Regions from separate parts of the Homo sapiens genome. Here region 2 is linked to region 1. The links are contacts of gene promoters, found by promoter capture Hi-C in human tissues and cell types (Jung and others, 2019). All regions are on one chromosome and are shown on one strand. Each heading gives the region's core, a stretch centred on a gene start or on the middle of the fragment in contact. The rest is flanking DNA. Distances are from core to core; before and after follow the strand shown.

Region 1 (5,429 bases), core at 1,166-3,665:
ATTTTTGAGACAGGGTCTCTGTTGCGCAGGTTGGAGTGCACAGGCATGATCATTGCTCACTGTAACCTTGAACTCATGGGCTCAAGCAATCCTCCTCCCAGTAGTTGGGAGTACAGGCATGTGCCACCGTGCCCAGCTAATTTTTTCATTTATAATTTTTTGTAGAGATTGGGGTCTCCTTATGTTGCACAGGCTGGTCTTGAATTCCTGGCCTCAAAAAATCCCCCCCACTGCCTTGGCCTCCCAAAGTGCTAGGATTACTGGTGTGAGCCACGGTGCCAGGCCATGTGCAGTATTTTTTTGGATTTTTTTTGAGATGGAGTCTTGCTCTGTTGCCGAGGCTGGAGTGCAATGGCGAGATCTCGGCTCACTGCAACCTCTGCCTCCTGGGTTCAAGCAATTCTCCTGCCTTAGCCAGGAGAGTAGCTGGGATTACAGGCACCTGTGACCATGCCCGGCTAATTTTTGTATTTTTAGTAGAGATGGGGTTTTGCCAAGTTGGTCAGGCTGGTCCTGAACTCCTGACCTCAGGTGATCCACCCACATCTGCCTCCCAAAGTGCTGAGATTACAGGCATGAGCCACCGCGCCTGGCCTGGGCCATGTGCATTTCTAACAAGCTTCCCAGGTACAGCCAATTGTCTGTGCTAGGTGATCTGGACTTCGAGGTCCTTCACCTCTGAAGGACTGCCTTCCTTCCTCCTTCTGTCTGTGGAGTTCCAGGTTTTACTCCCAAACCTCAGCCCCAGAGGAGACCCAGCATCCAGATTCTGAGAGGTTGATCCCACCATACAGGAACCCCAGTCTTGCTCAGGAGTGAGTCAGCCCAACATGCACCCTCATTAGCTTAGCATCATGAGGGTTGGTAATTATTATGGTAAATACATGATTGTAACCTTGCCGTTCTGCTTCCTGCATCTTCTAATTTATATGAGCCTGAGGTCTCCCTCTTGCCCTTCTTGTGATAATGCAAGGAGGAAGTGTTCAGCTGTTCATTCATACACACTCATTGAGTCTTTTCTGTGCTAGGCAATGTCTAGGTGTTGAAGAAACACTGTGAAAGGGATAAAATCTCTGTTTTCAAGGTACTGGGGAAAGAACAACATATGTATAAACAAACAAGATAATCTCAGGGAGTATTAGGTTCCATGAATAAAATACAACAGGGTAATGGATAATGGAACTTTATTTTTATTTTCATTTTTGAGAGGGAGTCTCACTCTGTCTGGAGTGCAGAGGGGTGATCTCGGCTGACTGCAACCTCCGCCTCCCGGGTTCAAGTGATTCTCCTGCCTCAGCTTCCCCAGTAGCTGGGACTACAGGTGTGCACTACCACGCCCGGCTAATTTTTGTAGTTTTAGTAGAGATGGGGTTTCACTATGTTGGCCAGGCTGGTCTCAAACTCCTGACTTCAGTGATCCGCCCGCCTCAGCCTCCTGAAGTGCTGGGATTACAGGCATGAGCCACTGTGCCCAGCTCATAATGGAACCGTAGATAGGCACAAGTCCTCTCTGAGTGGAATATTTGAAGCCAGAGGGAGTCAGCTATACGAATATCCAGAGCTATTCTGTAGCTCTGGATTGGCCACAAGAGGGTATTGAGCACTGGAATTCTGGCTAGTTTGTACTGAGATGCGCAGTAAATGTAAAATATACCCGAATTTCAAAAACTTACTATAAAAAAGTTAACATATTGTATTAGTAATTTTTTCTTTTGGCGACATGTTGAGATGATCATATTTTGAACATATTGGATTAAATATATTAAAATGAAGTTCATTTTCTTCTTTTTCGTTTAAAAAAAATGTACTAGCTAGTAAATGTGGATTGCCTATGTGGCTGGCATTGTGTTTCTATTGGTCTGAGGAGAAGGGTCCTAGGTAGAGACAACGGCAAAGGTACAGTTCCTGGGGCAGAAACTGAAGGATGCTGAGGCAGAGTCGGCCGGGGAAAAAGTGGCTGAAATGGGAAGGGACCAGATCCAGTGGGACCTTGGTGGCAGCTCTGTAAGGAGGTGGGTTTTAACTGAAGTACGGTGGGGACGCCGTTTTAAGCAGGGAAGGGCAGGGTCTGAATTAACAGGCCCCTGTGGCTGCGAAGTGGGGAACGGACTGTGGGTGAGTGGGCCAGACGGACGGCCAATCGCACCTTTCGCTTGGATGGAAGGCAGGGTGGTTGTAGGTGGGAAGAATCCTGGGTTCCCATGCTGTCTGAACCAGAGTCATTTGTGGCCCTGCCCTCCCCTGGGACTCAATTTCCCCACCTATAAAATAAGCCCCAGTGTCCGCGAACCCTGGAGGGGCCCGCACCACTGCAGGAGCGGCCGCCGGCGCCAGGGGGCGCCTCCTCGATAACTCGGCGCTCGGCTGGCCAGGCACCGGCGCGTCGGCCGCTCGATTGGTCGGGTCGGGGCCGGCCTGAGCGCCGCGGGCCTGCGCCATTGAGGAGCGGCGGGGAGGAAACGCCGCGCAGCGCCGGGCTGGGGCGGGCGGCCCGGGACACCGACAGGTAGGGGCCGAGCGGCTCCGTGCCGGGCGGGGCCAGGGTCGGGAACTGCAGGGCCGGCGCGGACCCGCGGGCCGCCGCTAGGGCTCCGCCTGGACATGGGGGCCCGGGCCCACCCTGGGGAGAGCGATGCTAGGAGCCTGGGGGCCCCGTCGTCCGGCCTCGGTCTGAGCCCCTCGGGGTAACCCTGGGCGTCTGCTCCCCCCGGGCCCCAAGCCCGCCACCTCCGGGGACCCCTGCGTCCGAGTCCCCGCGAGCTCCCCAAGCACAGGCTCGGGGCTGGCTGAACCTCTGGGAACCCCGACGTCCGTGTCCTGGGGAGCCCGAGCCCCCGCTGGACCCCGGCACACTTTCCGGGGTCCCAGCAGCCTGGCGCCCTGGAATTGGGGGGTGTCAGTCCGCGCCTGTCCGCCTGAGCCTTGGTCTCAATGCAGGACCCCAGTGTGCGAGCCCCCCACATTACGCCGAAGAGTGGGGTGTCAGTTCTCTAGAATGCCTTAGCCACCTCCCTTAATCAGCCACCCGAGGTCACACTCTCGCGTGGAGACATCAGGCCTAAAACCTCTCTTTACCTTTTGCCCCCCAGGGTCACGCCCTGGCCCAGCCACTCCTCCTAGGTGTGGGATGCCAGACATCAGGCCTAAAACCTCTCTTTACCTTTTACCCCCCAGGGTCACGCCCTGGCCCAGCCACTCCTCCTAGGTATGGGATCCCGGCGCCGTTCCCTCCAGGTTTTACTTGGGTGGTGGGGTCTCTGTCCCCTGGAGGGGGCTGAGGGTTCCGAGAGCTGGGGGCGGGAGGGTTGTGGGAGCGTCGCCTTCCGGGCAGTGCCGTTCCTGTGGGGCCACCGGTCGCACAGCCGTCCCCGCCCCGGTTTTGGAGCTCCCTGGCGCCGGCAGCGTTCAGCCCTGGCCGCCTCGGGGAGGGACGCCCAGGTCCGGTTGCCAGTCCTTCCTATTCCCGGTCTGGCCGCTCCTCAGGGGAGGGGCCTGGCTCAAGGTCATGCCCGGCTGTCTGCCCGCCCGTGGGCTCAGCACTGATCCCTACTGTCACCCGCCCCACTGGGTAGGGGAGCCCAGGTGGGGGTTAGTGCCAGTGCCAGGCAGCTGCCTAGAAGTCCTGATGGACCGGAGTGTAAACACTTTGGGACTCTGGCCAGTCTGGCGGCCCTTGCTGACACTGAATTCCTTCAGGGAATCCTTGAAGTGGCCTCAAGCACGGTCTAGATGCTTAGCAGAGCAAATAATGGGTGCTTTCTGGTTTGGGCCTCAATGTTACTGACCAGGTTGCCTCACAATGCTAATCACTCATGCTTTTAAAATCTGTGCTTTGCATTCTTTTCCGTTTAGGGCAAGTAGGGTAGGGCCTGAACTTGTTTACAAACTGACAGTTGTTTCCCTTGATTTGGAGATAATTGGTAATTGGCACTCAGAGTTGGCATTTAGGGCCGAAATTAGTGGCAATAACTACAAAAATAAAGAGTACTCTGACCTTGGCTTCTTGCTCAAATTTGTTTGGAGTCCCCATAGTAAGATTAGTCAGTTTCACATTTGGTTTTCACAAATTTACTCCTTTCAAGTTATAATAGTGGCCGGGCACGGTGGCTCACGCCTGTAATCCCAGCACTTTGGGAGGCCAAAGTGGGCAGATCGCTTAAGGTCAGGATTTCAGACCAGCCTGGCCAACATGATGAAACCCTGTCTCTACCAAAAATACAAAACTTAGCCGGGGATGGTGGCAGGTGCCTGTAATCCCAGCTACTCAGGAGGCAGAGGTAGGAGAATCGCTTGAACCCAGGAGATGGCGGTTGCAGTGAGCCGAGATCCGAGATCCCGTCACTGCACTCCAGCCTGGGCGAGGGAGCAACACTCTGTCTCCAGAAAAAAAAGTTACAATAGAGAAATGTTTCTTTTATTCAGACTGTTGAGCATTTTTTTTAAAAAATTGTTCTTATAACATCTTCTTTAAACAAATGTAGCTAATAATTAGTTTTATGTAACTCTACCCTTAAAAAATATCTTTATATTCCATTTGCAGAAAAAAAAATCTTTGGAAAGAAATTGGTCAAATATTTTACCAAATGCTGTTTTTTTCTTTTTGCTGTCACTGTTGACCAATAAAAGTTAATCTTCTCTGGAAGTACAAGATATTGTTGACAAACAAAAGCCAGTTTTTCCAGGAGATTGAATTCATTCTTGTGGAGGCCTTGTGCTTCAGGTAGTTGTTGGATGGCAGCCTCTCAGTTGGGATAGGTGTATCTTCTGGCACTAAGATGAATCACTAGAGGTGGGGCAGCGTGCTTGGAGAGGATCCTGAAAGTAGGCTGGCTCCAGTGGGATGCGTGCCATGGCAAGTCTGTAGTGCCTGGCAGGGTGGCTGATGACTGACATGGTGGATCAGAACAAGATTTGAGGCTCACAGTTTCCACTGGGATCTTCTAGTTGAGCAATCTCAGAACCCAGTTAAACTTTTGTGTCTCAGTTTCCCTCATGTTGACTTTTTGTAATACTAAAATTAGTCTTTTTTTTTTTTTTTTTTTTTTTTTGGTAATACTGGTAAACACCAGTTATTATAACAGGCAGTAGTACCTACAAAATCTAAATACCGTGGCTGGAGCCAGAGGATTTCTGGAGTTTGGGGTTTGTAATAATCGACTAAGATTGTTCATTGTATCAGCGTCATCTGGTGCCCAGGTACCAGTAATGCAGTTCCAGGACATTTAAGAACAGTGATAAAGCACTGTCGCCTCTCTCCCATGTATATTATTTTATAAGTGATCCTCATGAACAAATTTGAGACATTTAATTTGGGCGGCCTAAATGAGGATCATTAAAGAATGTGAATTCTCCCCCCACCCCCAACTTTATTCAGGTTTGTTTCATGAGTTTCTTTTTCTTTTTTTTTTTGAGATGGAGTCTCACTCTGT
Region 2 (5,429 bases), core at 1,214-3,713, 170 kb before region 1:
GTATAGTTTTCTTTTTTCTTTTTCTAGTTTTCCAGTTAAATTATTTCCTTAGTTTTTCTTCACTGAGGTGAAATTACTGAGCCACTCACAAGTAGTACACATTTTTTTTTTTTTTTGGCTTTTGCTAAAAATTGCCATACTGCTTTCTGAAAAGGGTTGTAACATTTACCAGCAGAGTATGAATGAGTATTCTGGTCTCACCACAACTTTGGGGTTGGATTTACCAAAATTGTTTTTATAAAGCAAAAAAAAAAAAATGATGATTGTATAGATCTAAAAGGTTATCAAAGGTTGCTTGAATTTGCATTTCTTTAATTACTAAAAAGGTTAAACTTATAAAACTTGTAATTGATTTTTATTTGTATTTCTCCTTGTGCAAGCTATTTTGATGCTGTTGTTCATTTATTTATTCAAAACACCAGCCCTTCTCTCTCTCTCTTTTTTAATTAAACAAAAAATAGAGATGAGGTCTTGCTACGTTACCCGGGCTGGTCTCAAACTGGGCTCAAGTGATCCTCCAACCTCGGCCTCCCAAAGTGTTGGGATTACAGATATGAGCCATGTCACCCAGCTGCCAGCTTTTCTACTTTTGTAGTAGAAAGCTCTGGACTGGGAAGCAGGTGTCTTGCGTTCCTCCTGTCCCTGTCTGGTTCTGTCATTATCACAGGCAGGTCACTTCCATAATTGCTTACCTCATTGTTTAACATAGTCCCAGCTCAAACAGCCTAAGATACTGGGCCTGGTACATCCAGAGGAGAGTCTGGAAGTGGGTCTCTTGGGAAGGGGCATGATGGAGCAGTTTTCCCAAGTGGAGTCCAGCAGCCCCAGGAGGGTTGAGCATGGAGTGGTCAGTTGTGGAGACCTTGCTGGGAAGTTCCTGGTGGGAGGTTATCACTCCTACCCTATAGGGCCTTCACCTGATGGAGGCCTGGTACCTCGCAGGACAGATCAAGGTAGACACAGAAGCCAGAGTATCCTTAGGCTATTCTGGGCTCAGGGAAAATAACTGGCCCACCCTTAATTAGAGCACCTAGGACTGCCTGCCTATTTCTGAGCCTTGGCTTTCACATCTGAAAACCAAACAAAATCAGTCAAAAGAACCCTTGACCTGTGGCCCACCCAGCAGATGCTCAACACAGACACACGGAATGTGGAATAAAAGGAGCAAAGAGAAAACCCAGGGGATGGGGAAGCACTGGAAGGGAAAATCATTCACCAGCAAATGAGAACATAGTACGAGGAGGCTTGAATCATTTCTGTTAGGAGAGAGTGCCAGCCGCCTCCTCCAGGAAGAAAACTCTAAAGGGTCAGGCCTCAGGGAAATAAAATGATCTATACCATCCATCAGTTCCTCCAACATTCAGTCCATCCATCTACCAATCCACCCACCCATTTACCCACTCACCTGCTGCTCATCCATCCATCCATCCATCCACCTATGCATCCATCCATCCATCCATCTATGCATCCATCCATCCACCCATCCACCCACCCATTTACCCACTCACCTGCTGCTCACCCATCCATCCATCCATCCATCCATCCATCCATCCATCCATCCACTTATGCATCCATCCATCCACTTATGCATCCATCCATCCATCCATCCATCCATCCATCCATCCATCCACCTATGCATCCATCCATCCATCCATCCATCCATCCATCCATCCATCCATCCATCCACTTATGCATCCATCCATCCATCCATCCATCCATCCATCCACCTATGCATCCATCCATCCATCCATCTATGCATCCATCCATCCACCCATCCACCCACCCATTTACCCACTCACCTGCTGCTCACCCATCCATCCATCCATCCATCCATCCACTTATGCATCCATCCATCCATCCATCCATCCATCCACTTATGCATCCATCCATCCATCCATCCATCCATCCATCCATCCATCCATCCACCTATGCATCCATCCATCCATCCATCCATCCATCCATCCATCCATCCATCCACTTATGCATCCATCCATCCATCCATCCATCCATCCATCCATCCATCCATCCACCTATGCATCCATCCATCCATCCATCCATCCACCAATTTATCATCCACTCACTGATTCATTTTACAGCAAATGCTTATGAATGGGGATGGGTGGGTGATGGTTGCTTTTTCTGCAGTCTCCCTAGGCCAGTTGTCCCTTCCAAAGAATCTCAAGGGCATGGGAGAAGGTCCTGGCTGATCGTGTCAGGGACAGGAAACTACTCACATTTCACCGTTTCTTGGGGCAGGAGTGGAGGTGGGGGCATTGGAACCCCCTTGGGGCCTCCTAATATCCTGTGAGTCCCCACCTCCAGGGCCAGAAGCTGCCTGCCTCCGCTCCCCGCAGCCCAGGTGCGGCGGGCAGCACACTCCCTAGAGCCAGGACCACTAGTTCCGTCAAATCCGGGGCGGGCCATTCAAACAGCTAAGGGAGGCGTCTCCTAGTGTGCCTTTTCCTGAGTCATCTCTGCACGTGTTTGCCCCCTTTTTTCTTCGCTGCTTGTAGCTAAGTGTTCCTGGAACCAATTTGATACGGGAGAACTAAGGCTGAAACCTCGGAGGAACAACCACTTTTGAAGTGACTTCGCGGCGTGCGTTGGGTGCGGACTAGGTGGCCGCGGCGGGAGTGTGCTGGAGCCTGAAGTCCACGCGCGCGGCTGAGAACCGCCGGGACCGCACGTGGGCGCCGCGCGCTTCCCCCGCTTCCCAGGTGGGCGCCGGCCGCCAGGCCACCTCACGTCCGGCCCCGGGGATGCGCGTCCTCCTCGCCGCGCTGGGACTGCTGTTCCTGGGGGCGCTACGAGCCTTCCCACAGGTAAGCGGGTGACGGGCGCCTGGGGAGGTGCCGGCGGTCCAGAGCCCGGACAGTGTGGGGTGCGTGGGACGCAAGGGAGGACACTCCTCACCCCGTTCCCTGCCCAGCTGGAGTGAGGGGGCGCGGGTGACAAGCAGGAACACCGGAATATGCTAGCACCCACAGGTGGGAGGCTGGCTGAAGGGCTAGTGGTGGGGGGCGCCTCCTTCTCACCCCGCGATGGCTGGGACTGATTCATTCATTCAGTGTGAATTGGACTGAGAGCACTGCCATACGCGGGAGGCGCTCTTTAGCCCGCCTACCTGCGGGCCCGTCGGGGTCCTGGGCAGATCAGGTGAGGCCGTGGGAGTAGTGGGCAGGCCAGATGGGGCCTCCCTTAGCCATGGGAGGTTGGTCGTCCGCGCTCTACCCTGTTGTGTGCGCGGTCCCGTTTGCCCCCTTCCTAAGCTGGCCACTGGCTGGAGGGTCAAGGAAAGGAGGGAGAGTTGGCTGTGGGTGAGAGTGGGGTGAGGGTGCAGGACCACCGGGATTAGCTTCCCCAATCCGCGTCCGGCAAAGCAACGCTGTGGATTGAATTCGCTGGAGCACGTGGTGGGCATTTGCCCCTGGAAGAAGGTCAGTGGTGGGGCTGAAGTCTATGGTGGGTTGCCTCAGAATTGAGTTTGGGGACTGCTTTAGGAAAACTGAGCACTTACCAGTGGCCAGCGCCAAATTAATCACTGTGGGGAGAATGCAAAGTAACCAGGCGTGTTTCACGGAGCCCAGGGGCTGCTGGAGAGAGAGGCCCTCAGCTGACCCAGGACCCCGGTGGACCCCTGCATAGAACCATAGTAGGTGCGAGTGGATGCCTGCTGAATGATACAGAGGGAAAGGAAGGAGCAGGCTGTTAGTCCAGCGGTGGGTCACGGTGGGGGAGAGGGAAGACCCAGTTCCCCTTTAATCCTACAGGAAGAGAGGACTCCATGCTATGGATCAATTCTAGTCATCTGAACCTTAGGCAGTGGGAGGAGAGTGGCAGAGTGGGCTTTAGGCAGGAGGGAGGAACTATGCAGCAAAGGAGGAACTATGCCCTCTTCCATTTCCAATGGGCAATGTGAGGTATTCCCCCTTTCCCCCCAAGAGGGCAGAGGGGACAAAGCCCTGGCTAGAGACACCCTGTCCCAGCTCTGCAAGCCCTCACCTGGGGGAAGGTAAGAGTTTGGAGTGCCAAGGTCTTGGGGAGATGAAGGGAAGGAAGAGATGTGAGAGGTGCTTGGGGGGCTTTGCTGGTTTGGTTTGGCAGCTGAAGCTCATGTGCTTCCTTTCTGTAGAGTGAAGCCCCCTCCACTTTTTTTAATGTTAGAGACAGGGTCTCACTCTGTTGTCCAGGCTGGAGTGCGATCATAACTCACTACAGCCTGAACTCTCATACCAAACCTTTTTTTTTTTTTTTTTTTTTTGAGACTGAGTCTCACTCTTGTTGCCCATGCTGGAGTGCAATGCTCGATCTCGGCTCACTGCAACCTCTGCCTCCCGGATTCAAGTGATTCTCCTGCCTCAGCCTCCCAGGTAGCTGGGATTACAGGCATGTGCCACCACACCCGGCTAATTTTTGTATTTTTAGTAAAGATGAGGTTTCACCATGTTGGTCAGTCTGGTCTCGAACTCCTGACCTCAAGTGATCCTTCCGTCTCGGCCTCCCAAAGTGCTAGGGTTACAGGCATGAGCCACCACACCCAGCCTCCCATACCCTTTTTAAAATAAAAATACTATATATTTAATTGCACAAGGAATATATAAATATATTCTCAAAGCAAAACTGTAAACGCTACAGATAAAGCCAAGTCTTTTGACACCGCCTCATCCTGATCCCTTCAAAGATATAACCACCATAATTGATTTGGTGTGTTTCCTTTGCAGACCTTTATAAATGCATGTCCATATTTATATTGTTTTAATAGACATATATATAGTTTTCCATATACTATACCCTACAGTACATATGGTTCTTCATTTGGCTTTATAATGTCTATGAGGCATCTTGGTGAGCTTTCCATGCTGAAACTTACAGATCCTCTGCCTATCTTTTAAAATGCTATGTGATCTTTTGCCAAATGGGATGTTTCATAGTTTATTTATGTCCTGGATGGATGGGTGCTAAGGTTGCCACCATTGTTCTTTCTTTCTTTCTTTGTTCTCTACTACAGTGCACAGCCCTATATGGATGCTTTTGGAAATAAATGTCTGTGATTCTTTCCTAGACAAGAGACTGAGAAGAGAATACTGAGGTTGCAGGGCGAAAATGCATTCAAATTAAAAGACACCACCGAACTGCCTTCCAGGGTGGCTGGACAATTTACCCTCCCGCTAGCAGTGCAAGAGAGTAGTAACTTTCCCACATCCTAACCGACATTTGATCTTATCAGCATTTTAATTTTTCTCAATGTGATTAGTGAAAAGGGTTATATCCTTGTTGCCTTAATTTGCATTTCTCGCCTACCGGGGAAGCTGAGCATCTCTCTGGGCTCAGGCACTAGGTCATTTCTTGGCAGGAGTCAGGGAGTCCTTGGGGAAGGGACTACCTGCCCAACACAGTACTCCTTTTTGCCCCTCAAGCCTTCTCCCACT

The links. The method cuts DNA at HindIII sites, captures the fragments that hold promoters and counts their contacts. A contact is called where the count stands out against the background at its distance.
Region 2: the fragment with the promoter of TNFRSF8 here is called in contact with the fragment with the promoter of VPS13D in region 1 in 1 of the 25 tissues and cell types used here (stomach).

The regions. Positions count from the first base shown.
Region 1 is chr1:12,227,615-12,233,043 of GRCh38, forward strand. VPS13D (vacuolar protein sorting 13 homolog D) reads left to right here and starts at 2,416. Exons shown (of 70, transcript NM_015378.4): 1 at 2,416-2,506. RefSeq lists an enhancer at 2,165-3,095 and silencers at 2,241-2,770, 2,307-2,475. The HindIII fragment of the contact is 14,457 bases long and covers 1-5,429 here.
Region 2 is chr1:12,060,840-12,066,268 of GRCh38, forward strand. It overlaps TNFRSF8 (TNF receptor superfamily member 8), which reads left to right and starts at 2,464. Exons shown (of 15, transcript NM_001243.5): 1 at 2,464-2,822. The coding sequence starts at 2,760. RefSeq lists silencers at 1,907-2,139, 2,727-2,856. The HindIII fragment of the contact is 14,330 bases long and covers 1-5,429 here.